Regions from separate parts of the Homo sapiens genome. Here all the other regions are linked to region 3. The links are contacts of gene promoters, found by promoter capture Hi-C in human tissues and cell types (Jung and others, 2019). All regions are on one chromosome and are shown on one strand. Each heading gives the region's core, a stretch centred on a gene start or on the middle of the fragment in contact. The rest is flanking DNA. Distances are from core to core; before and after follow the strand shown. Region 1 overlaps FRMD3 (FERM domain containing 3). Region 2 has its middle 41 kb from the start of IDNK. Region 3 holds the start of FRMD3 (FERM domain containing 3).

The links. Contacts are between HindIII fragments. The study calls those that stand out against the background at their distance.
Region 1: a contact is called between a fragment that was not itself captured here and the fragment with the promoter of FRMD3 in region 3, in 1 of the 25 tissues and cell types used here (neural progenitor cells).
Region 2: a fragment that was not itself captured here is called in contact with the fragment with the promoter of FRMD3 in region 3 in 1 of the 25 tissues and cell types used here (neural progenitor cells).

Annotation. Positions count from the first base shown.
Region 1 is chr9:83,501,232-83,504,680 of GRCh38, forward strand. The region is part of intron 1 of FRMD3 (FERM domain containing 3); the gene reads right to left. Among named protein-coding and RNA genes, the nearest start is that of FRMD3, 35 kb to the right of the region's middle. The HindIII fragment of the contact is 4,434 bases long and covers 1-3,449 here.
Region 2 is chr9:83,580,171-83,583,196 of GRCh38, forward strand. It overlaps a transcript of FRMD3 not described here. Among named protein-coding and RNA genes, the nearest start is that of IDNK, 41 kb to the right of the region's middle. The HindIII fragment of the contact is 4,095 bases long and covers 1-3,026 here.
Region 3 is chr9:83,536,669-83,539,831 of GRCh38, forward strand. It overlaps FRMD3 (FERM domain containing 3), which reads right to left and starts at 1,733. Exons shown (of 14, transcript NM_174938.6): 1 at 1,417-1,733. The coding sequence starts at 1,563. The HindIII fragment of the contact is 11,978 bases long and covers 1-3,163 here.

The sequences.
Region 1 (3,449 bases), core at 888-3,387, 35 kb before region 3:
TGCAGTGAGCCGAGATGGTGCCACTGCACTCCAGCCTGGGTGACAGAGCGAGACTCCATCTCAAAAAAAAAAACTACACTTCTTTGCATATAGCAGGAATCAGTAAGTATGTGTTGAAAGGAGGAAAGATAAATGTCAAGAAGACAGGGCAAGACTCCTTATATACATATAAGGTACCCCAATAATTTTTCAGAGAGCAGACTACATCCTGAAATTTTTATAAACACGGAGTGTTCTTCCATGAGAGCACTATAATACATTCAGGCTATAGAGCTGAGCTACAAAGCCAGGGGATATAATTTGTAATTTCTTACAGATATAATTACCTACATTTTTCCCACACAAAAATGATACAAATGTGTTGATAATTACATTATACAAAACTATGCATTTTAAACTGAGCCAGAACATTAGAATATTACAACGAATGCACACCATGAAAACCTGTATTTGCTGCCTCTAGGTAACAAGATGATTGGTATGTAACAAGCGGCAAGGCAACCACATCTCCTGTTTGTTCTTGAGAGGAATTTCTTATTGCTAGCAGGGCTTCATTTTCATCCCTGCAGCCAGTGCTCACATGAAGAGATGCATCTGATTAAGTGACTCCATGCATTTGAGTAGAGAGGGAAAAGGAAAGCCAACTCTACGTTTAATATCCTCTTTTCTCTGCAATGCATTTACCTCCTCCTTTCTGCTGCAACTCTAAATGAAGTACAATTTAAGTCAAGCACCAAAATTTGTTACTTATGGAAGCAACTCCTTTAAGTGCATGAATCATTAACTTGTTTTATTTATCTAGTTATGTGTCTTGTTCTGGAACAAATGTGAGACAGAAAATATTAACTGTTTTTAGGTATGGACCTGGGGTGGATCACAAGACTGGGCAGTGCCAATTAGGGAGAACACGCAAATACCTAAGCATGCGCCACTTCGAATTCAGTTCCAAAGGGCAATTGCATCCCAGTTAATAAATATGCACTGGTCCCTGCTGTGTACCGGGTAGTGTGCTAGGAGCTAAGGACACAGTGGTGAGTGCAACAGAGAAGGTTCCTGCCTTTTTGATGGAGGGTACATTCTAAAGGCATGTTCCCAGTACCAGAAGTAGAGGTGACGTGCCAGGTGCCTGCTAAAGCTAAAGTTTAGTTTGTAGAAGAGATGTTCTGAGACTTGATATCTGCCTCTAAGTATCTGAATCACCATATTTTATGAAAAGAAATGAGTTATTTGGTACAGCTATAAGCCATAAATAGGTACACTGTGCGAAAGTCAGAAGGAAACTTACATGGGCCCAATAGAAGAAAGAATTTCTTAATAAATGGGCCTGTTAAAGAATGGAAGAGGTCAAGTGAGGTGTTCCAGAAGAGGTGGGCAGACAAATCAGGATGGTACCCGGAAGCTTGCTGTGAGGGGAAGAAGCAGAGGCAAAGGGCAGCAGAGGTTACCTCCAATTTCATGATTCAGTGGACTCCAAATCAAACCACAGAAATGCTTTGAAAATCTCGGCCCTCATAATTTTAGCTTTAATGAGAAGCTTTAATGATCATATATTGATATAAAAGGCCATCATTTCCTTTGTCCTCTGCCATTCAGAGTCAGACAGAAACACTAAACACTGATTTCTGATGGTTATGCTGGGTTCCAGTGCACCATGTGGCTTCAAAATGCCAACTGCCTCTCTGGAAAAGGAGAAACTGGGGTTCTGGAAATACAAGCACACTGTAGTAATTACTATAAGGGCAAAGATAGGCCCTCATGACTGATTTACTTTGGTAATTACTACAGTGTAATTAGCAGTAGTACTGCTAATACTACTGATATTGGCTGCAAAAGACTATTGGGAAGGGCAGAATTTCTAAAATGGCCCCTTAATGATGTCCTGCCCTAACCCCCAGAACCTATCAACATGACGACAGAACCTATCCTATGATTGTGCTATGTTGCATGGCACAGTTACTATGCTATGTTACATGGCACAATTGGCCATCAGATAGGGAAATTATCTGCATTATCCTGGTGGGTCATATACCCTATAGTCCTTAAAAGCAGAGAGCTTTCTCCAGCTGACGACAGAAGAGAATTCAGAGAGATTCAAAGCACAAGACGGATTTCATGCATCGCTGCTGGCTTGATGTTAGAGAGGGGCATGTGATAAGGACTGTGGTGACCTCTAGAAGCTGACAACCAGTAAGAAAATGGAGACATCAGTTCTACAACTGCAAAGAACTGAATTCTACCACCAACCTGAACAACCTTGGAAATAGATTCTGCCTCCCAGCTTTCAGTGAAAAGCCCAGCTCTGCTGACACCTTGAGTACAGATTTGTGATACCCTGAGTATAGAACCCAGCCAAGCCTGCCCAGAATCCTGGTCTAGACACCAGTCTAGGTCTACAGAGCTAACTAAGTGGGTGTTGGTTTAAGCCACTGAGTGCGCAGACATTTCTTACACAGCAATAGATAACCAAGGCAGAATCCAAAGGGTGATCATGAAGCACTGTAAATTAGACATTGGATCAGAAGGGCCAACACTCCAGGGCCACATCTCCACCAGCCAAGTGGGCCAGATGAGTCCAGATTCAGAGAAGCCTGAGGAAAGCAGCACCACAGTTGAAATCATGGACAGAAAAGGCACAACTCATTCGTGCAAGAAGGAAAAGGAAGATATAGCTTGAGAAGGTCCTGTGTGATTAACACTAGCTAGAACTCTCCTGCAACTCAGGGGAACCAGCTGCTCTGTAGCTGGTGACAAGGGCGGGAGTGGGGAGGTGGTAACGGAAGAGAATACACTCCGCATCCTGCTGCAGTTTGGGGTGTGCACTGAGTGCTGCTGAAGCCAGATGCTACATGGCCTTCGGGTTTGTACTGCTCTGTGGTGATAGCCCTTGGAAAGGAAGAGGGATCAGCCCTTGCCAGCTTCCCCTTCAAGGCCAGGCCAGTGCTTATCATCTCCTGAGCTTGACTTTCACACAAACGGAAAGCACCACCAATGACTGTAGACATTCAAGTGGTCTTGGGCTTCCTAAAACTTCTCACTATCCAAGGGCACAGTTTTCACCTCCTAATGGGTCTCCCTGTGTTTGCTCTTCTCTCCCTAGGGCCTATTCTCAACAGAGCAAGTGCATGATCCTCTTTAAAAACACAAGACAGACCATGCCATTCTCTACCAAAGCTTTCCAATGGCTTCCAAAGCTCTTCAAGTGACCTATAAGACCCTCAGGTTGTCTGCCACCCCCTCTCTTGGCTTCTTTCCCAGTCCTCTCCTCCTCCCTCACATTCCTCACACTCGCCAAGCTCCCTTCTGCCTCAAGACCTTTACATCTGTTCTCTTTCTGAAATGTTCTTCTCCCAGGTATTCATTTGACTTCCCCCCCCACCACTTCTTTCAGGCCTCTCCTCAAATACCACCTTATCAGGGACACCTTCCCTGACCACTCTATAAAGAACAGT
Region 2 (3,026 bases), core at 472-2,971, 43 kb after region 3:
ATGCTGTTGGTGGAAATGTAAATTGGTATAGCCATCATGAAAAAATTGTGTGTAGGTTGCTCAAAAAAGTAAAAGTAGAACTCTGTACAATCCGGTACTCTCATTTCTGGGAACATATTCAAAGGAATTGAAATCATTGTATCAAAAGGATATCTGTACTCCCATACTCCCAATAGCCAAGATAAGGAATCAACCTGTGTTCACTAACAGATAAATGAATAAAGATAATGTATGTCCAGACAATGGAATACTATTCAGTCTGTAAAAAGAAGGCAATTCTGTCACTTGAAACAACATGGATAAATCTGGAGGACAGTATACTAAGTGAAATAAGCCAGGCACAGAAAAACACGTACCTCGTGATCTCACTTATATATGGAATCTTTAAAAAGTTGAATTCATAGCAGTAGAAAGCAGAATGATGGCACCAGAACCTGGGAGTATGGGGATCAAGAGAATGAACGGGGAATTATTGGCCAAAGGGTACAAAGTTTCAGCTAGACAGGAACAATAAGTTTTGAGATCTACTACACAGAAGAGTGACTACAGTCAATAACGTATACTTCAAAATAACCAAGGGAAGAAATCTCAAATGTATTGCCACAAAAAATATCAAGTAAGGTGATGGTTATGTTAACTAGTTTGATTTAATCATTTCACATTATATACATATATCAAAATACCACAATGTACCCCATGAATGTATACAGTTATGATTTGTCAATTAAAAATAATACTAATTTTTTTAAATGAAAAAAACTTCAGAAGAAAACAAAGCATAATGGAAAATAAAAGTGTTGTGGAGAGGGAGGCTAGATCAAACAAGAACAGCAAATTGTTGAGGCTGGGTGCTAAAAACAAGGAGATTCATTATATTGTCTCATGTTTGTTTGAAAATTTTCATATTAAAGGTTTACTTTTTAAAGATGAAATGTTAAATAAATAAAATAAATTTTAAAATGCTAAAACAATTTAACTTTTGTGCTTCAGTGAACACCATCCAAAAAGTGAAAAAAACCCACAGAATGGGAGAAAATATTTGCAAATTACACCCCGTTAAGGAAATTGTATACCAAGTATATAAAGAACTCTTACAACTCAATAATAAAAGGGCAACCCAGTTTTAAAACAGGCAAAGGATTTGAATAGACAGTCCTCCAAAGATACACAAATGACCAATAAGCACATGAAGAGATGCTCAACTTCCGTAATCATTGAGGAAATGCAAATCAAAACCACAAGATCCACTTCACATCCACTGGGAAGGCTATAATCAGGCAGATAATAACAAGTATTGTCAAGGATGTGGAGTGATTGGAACCCTAATACACTGTTGATGGGAATGTAAAATGGTGTGGCTGCTTTGAGAAAATGTGTGGCACTTCCCCAAAAGGTTAAACACAGACTTACCATATGATTCAATAATTCCATTCCTAGGTATATGTCCAACAAAAGCAAAAATGTATGTCCACACAAAAATTTGTATACAAATGTTCATAGAAGCATTCAAAATAGCCACACACAAAAAGTGGAAACAACCCAAATGTTCGTCAGCGGATTAATGAATAAATAAAATGTGGCATATTCATACAATAGCATATTATTTTGCAATAAAAAAATGAAGTGTGTAGTTATGCTAAGTGAAAGAAATTAATCCCAAAAGACCACATAGTGTATGAATTCTTTTATGTGAAATGTCCAAAATAGCCGGCAGAGTGGTTGGGGAGAAATGGGGAGTGATGGGTACATGGTTTCATGTTAGAATGATGAAAATGTTCTAAACTTGATGGCAGCGATGCTTGCGTAACTCTGTGAATATACTAAAACCATTGAATTATACACTGTTAATTGTATGATATAAGAATTATACCTCAAAAGGTTGTCATAAGTAATAAAAAGTAATCTCTTTTTTTTTCTTTAGAGACAGGATCTCACTCTGTCACCCCAGCTGGAGTACAGTGGCACAATCATAGCCCATAAAGACTGGAACTCCTGGGCTCAAGTGATCCTCCCACCTCAACCTCCCAAAGCCCTGGGATTGCAGGTATGAGTCACTGCATCCAGCCGAAAAGCAATATCTTAATCAAGTCTTGAGAAATACCCAGATCAGAAAATGTTGCAATTGGAAGAATTCCAGGTTTAGTGAAAAGATATTCAGTGGATTTTCAAGAGAACTTCCAATTCTTAAATTTAGTTCATTAAAGTGATACTATTTAGTTTAAAAGGATTTAGAGTATATTTGCTCTTAAACTTGATTTATTAGGGAACCTAGTATCTGTTTTACTGTGGATAATTTAATAAAGAGTGGTCTTTTTATTTTAAATTCTTGGGGTAAGAAAAGGTAGTAACTCCCATTATATTGGAATAATTTCAAATCACCAACTTGCACATACAACAGTGTGCTCTAACTACAATCTTGGATGAGGTATAAAACTCTCCATAGCAGAATCTGTTAACCTAAACAAGCAAAAACATAACAAAAAGTTACTCACTTTGTATGTCCTTGGTAATAAGTTTAATGCAAATTTAGAAGAAAAATGAAATATTGGTGAGATGCTATATTTTTACTTCAAAGCCCTGGAATTAGCATTTGGAGAGGTTCCCAAACATTATTTATGGTGTCAGTGACTCTGTTCTCAAATTGAAGTACCATTTTTGGCCTAGATTTGAGATCAGGTACAATTAATGAAGCACCTGGGGAAATTTTTCAAACAGATCCAGATAATCAGTTTCAAGTTGTAAGAGACGTTGCAATTTGGGATCGATAAGCCTATAGCCTCTTGAACATGGAGCACGTCTCACTCATAATGAATCAATGTTTTAAAAACTGAACTTATTCCACTAAACACAAGTCCTCTCCAGATGATATTTAAGATCTTCACCAACCATGACTTACAACTCATTTCCAGAGCCAAGAGTAATATTTTCCATCCCAAATTATTCCATAGCTTTCCAATCTCTTCTATTTTTGAGAATTCGCTTTAGAGAAACTATTATTTCTTATTTTTACTGGCTTTTCTGCACAA
Region 3 (3,163 bases), core at 483-2,982:
ATTCAATGGGAGCCTACTTTCCTGGGAGATCATGGGGCATCACATTCCTACCTTGACACTTGTCCGGCTGTCAGGTTACAAATTAATTGCAACTGCCCCCAACATGTCACACACTCCCACTAACAAAAATTAAATAAAAATAAAACAGGGAAAGTCCTTTCATTCCTTCATGGTTTGCACAGCCTAGAGGCTGATTCCTACTCTGGGAGATGCTGCCCCACTCACCTCCCACTGACATGGGTGGTGTGCCCTGTATTACACTAAAAAAAAAAAAAAAAAAAAAAAGCTCAGTCCCAGAGCCTCAAGACTCGACTAGGGTAGGTGAGAAAGGAAATCCCAGAGATAAACAGTTAAATAGATTTAGAAGTCAGAAGTTAATTGTGCTGAGCCCTGACACAACCTTTCCTGATTGTGTGCGCACCGAGTGGGGCATCTTTGGGGTCCTGGAAGAGGGGCTCCCACCTGCCTACATATTCACCCACAGCAAATATGCACACGCACGCGCAACCACATGCACACACACACCTTTGCACCTCACACTAGCTCTCCTGACAGCCCAGAGGCACTTACTACCCGAGGACAGGGCTGCCAGCAAAGCTGCCTTCTCCCAAACAACTCGCCTTCTCCTCCAACTTGGGCGACAGTGAATGTCCACCAAGATTCCACGGGGCTCTTTTACCCAGGACCCAGGTTCCTGCAGGGCTCCCCACTTGCTGGCCTCACAATCCCTTTTCCTTTCTCCGAAACACTCAGACTTCACACATTCCTTTCGAGGTAGCTCCAGTCCGGCGCAGCGCGCGCTCCATCCCTCAAGGCTGGCGCCCAGGGCAGCCCGGCCTCTCTCACTCTGGGGAAACTTCGCCACCGCCCCACGCGGAGAACTAAAGACCACCGGCGGAGGGTGAGGGGGACCGACACGGAGCGGAAAGCAGGTTCCGGGACTGAGGGCGTCTCCGGAGCCTGGGCGCGGGAGACAGAAATGAGTGAACCCAGCTGATGCATGCCTTCTCCACGTGGAAGAAGGGAGGAAATACCAGTGGGCGACATGCAGGTGCCCCTCTCAGCCCTCGGAGCTCCCATCTCCTGGCGGAGTAGGGCCCAGAGGGGCCAGAGTCCCTCCGGAGGCAGCTGCCCCGCGCCCCTAGCCCGGGCGCAGTGAGACGCGCGCGCAGGGTGCACGCGAGGGGAAGGAGACTGGGCGCGGATAACGCGTGCCTGGCGCTTGCAGGGCACCATGCCCCTCCATGCCAGGATAAGGCCCCCCACCCTCAGAGGCCTGAGGAATCGAAATCTGGCTTTCTAGCAGTCCCCCAATCCCCTCCGGGAGTGGGTTCCTTGTTCTCGCATGCCCACCGCAAAGGCCCCCCGCCCTGCTCCCGGCGTGTGCCCCGCGCCCTCGCCCGGTTCCACGCGCACCTGGATGTGGCAGGAGATCTCCGAGTCGTCCAGCAGCCGGATGGTGCATCTCATCTCCTGGCTGAGCGATTTGACGCTGGAGCTCCGAAAGTGGATCATTTTCATGGTCCTCCTGCCTCTCGGCACACAGTGGCAGGAGGCGAACATGCACCGCGGCCGTGGGGAGCGAGCGGGAGGCTCAGGGCCGGCGCGGTGCTCGCCTGCGCGGACACACACGCTCGCACGCACTGTCCGGGACACCTGGGCGCGGCTCAGCCCCGGGACATCGGCAGCGTCGGGCGCCTGCGGACACACATGCCCAGCGGCCGGGGCGCGGCGGGCGGGTCCCTCCCTCTGTTCGCTCGCCTCCGCCTCGCCCCCTCCTTTCCCCGCCTCCTTCTGTCGCGCGCGCTCGTGCGCCTCCCTCTGCCCGGGCTCGCTCGCCGAGGACGCCCAGAGCCTGAGACCCCCGGCGGGCTCGCGACGCACTCACTCCCACGCGCGCCGAGCAGCTGAAGGAGGAGGCGGAGGGATGGCTGGCGCGGCTGGCCCGGGTGCCCTGGTGGTGGCCTGCTCAGTCGCAGCCGCCGCTGCGTCAAGCTGGGCCCGACTGCCTTCCTCAGCCTCACCGCCTCCTCCCTCCCCTGGCCGCTGTCGCTCGGGCTCCCGGTTGTGCTCGTCCCGGCCCCGGCTCCCCAACGCGCTCGACAGCGCCCTGCTCTGCTCAGCTCCAGGGACCTGGCGCGGGTAGGGGACGGAGAGCGATCCTGACCCACACCGCCAGGGGGATTCCGCCTCGGGAAAGGATTGCTGGGCCCAGGGCGAGTGACAGAGAGAGTGACAGCCCTGACACGGCTACACCAGGAATATCGCTAATAGTAAAAATCTCTGGTACTCATGGAGATTGTTTAAGCCATTGTTTTATTTAATGCTAGCTAGGACTCAGTCTCTTTCTCCAAAAAAGAGCCTTCCATGTGCAAATCCTCCTTTAAATCTCCCAACATCTTAGTGTGATCTTTGATAGCATACCTTTGACCCGAGCAAGAGGGATAGGTTCCTATCCTACTCCCCTGCTTTACAGACCTCCTCCAGTTCCCGGTTGCTCAGGAATTAAGAGGTCTAATGGCAAAGCGGATGTGCCCCATCCCGTTTTAGTCCAATCTCTGGGTATTGAGGACTCTGGAATTCCCCACGCGCCTCCAGGGTGTTGAAGGTAGGAGGTATCCTGCCTCTCTGTTGTCCCCAAGGTGGCTAGAGCCACTGTGTCAGGTACCGTAGGCCCGAGAGTGGCCAGGAGCAGCTGTTGAGTCAGGGGTATGGAGCTTGAATGTGAGCACTAGAATGTCCAGGAGCTGGGAGAGATGGAAGTCCTCTCACCCTGTTGCTCTTGCCGGAGCAGAACAGGTCATTAGGAAGGAACATTTGTTAGAAGAGGAGGTGTTGACCAGCTGTCAGCTTTTTCAAGGTTTGTGCCTGCATAGAGTCCCCTCATCCAAAGATATGCCCTGTCCTGGGGGTCGAGGAAGAGTGGCACACAAATTTTACCTGCCCTGGACAGTCTGGTGGGCCATATATTCTCTAGGACACCTAGTGGGGTTGGCTAAGGTTTGGGGGAGTCCGCATTGCATTTGGACTTCTCTCTCTGCCTGCTCCTGCCTCCTCTCCCTGTTGATCACTAATAAATACCACACAGGACAAACTCAGTCTCAGTATCTGCTCCTGGAAATTCCAAATTGCAACAATTTGTCAAGATAGGAGGATAGAGAAT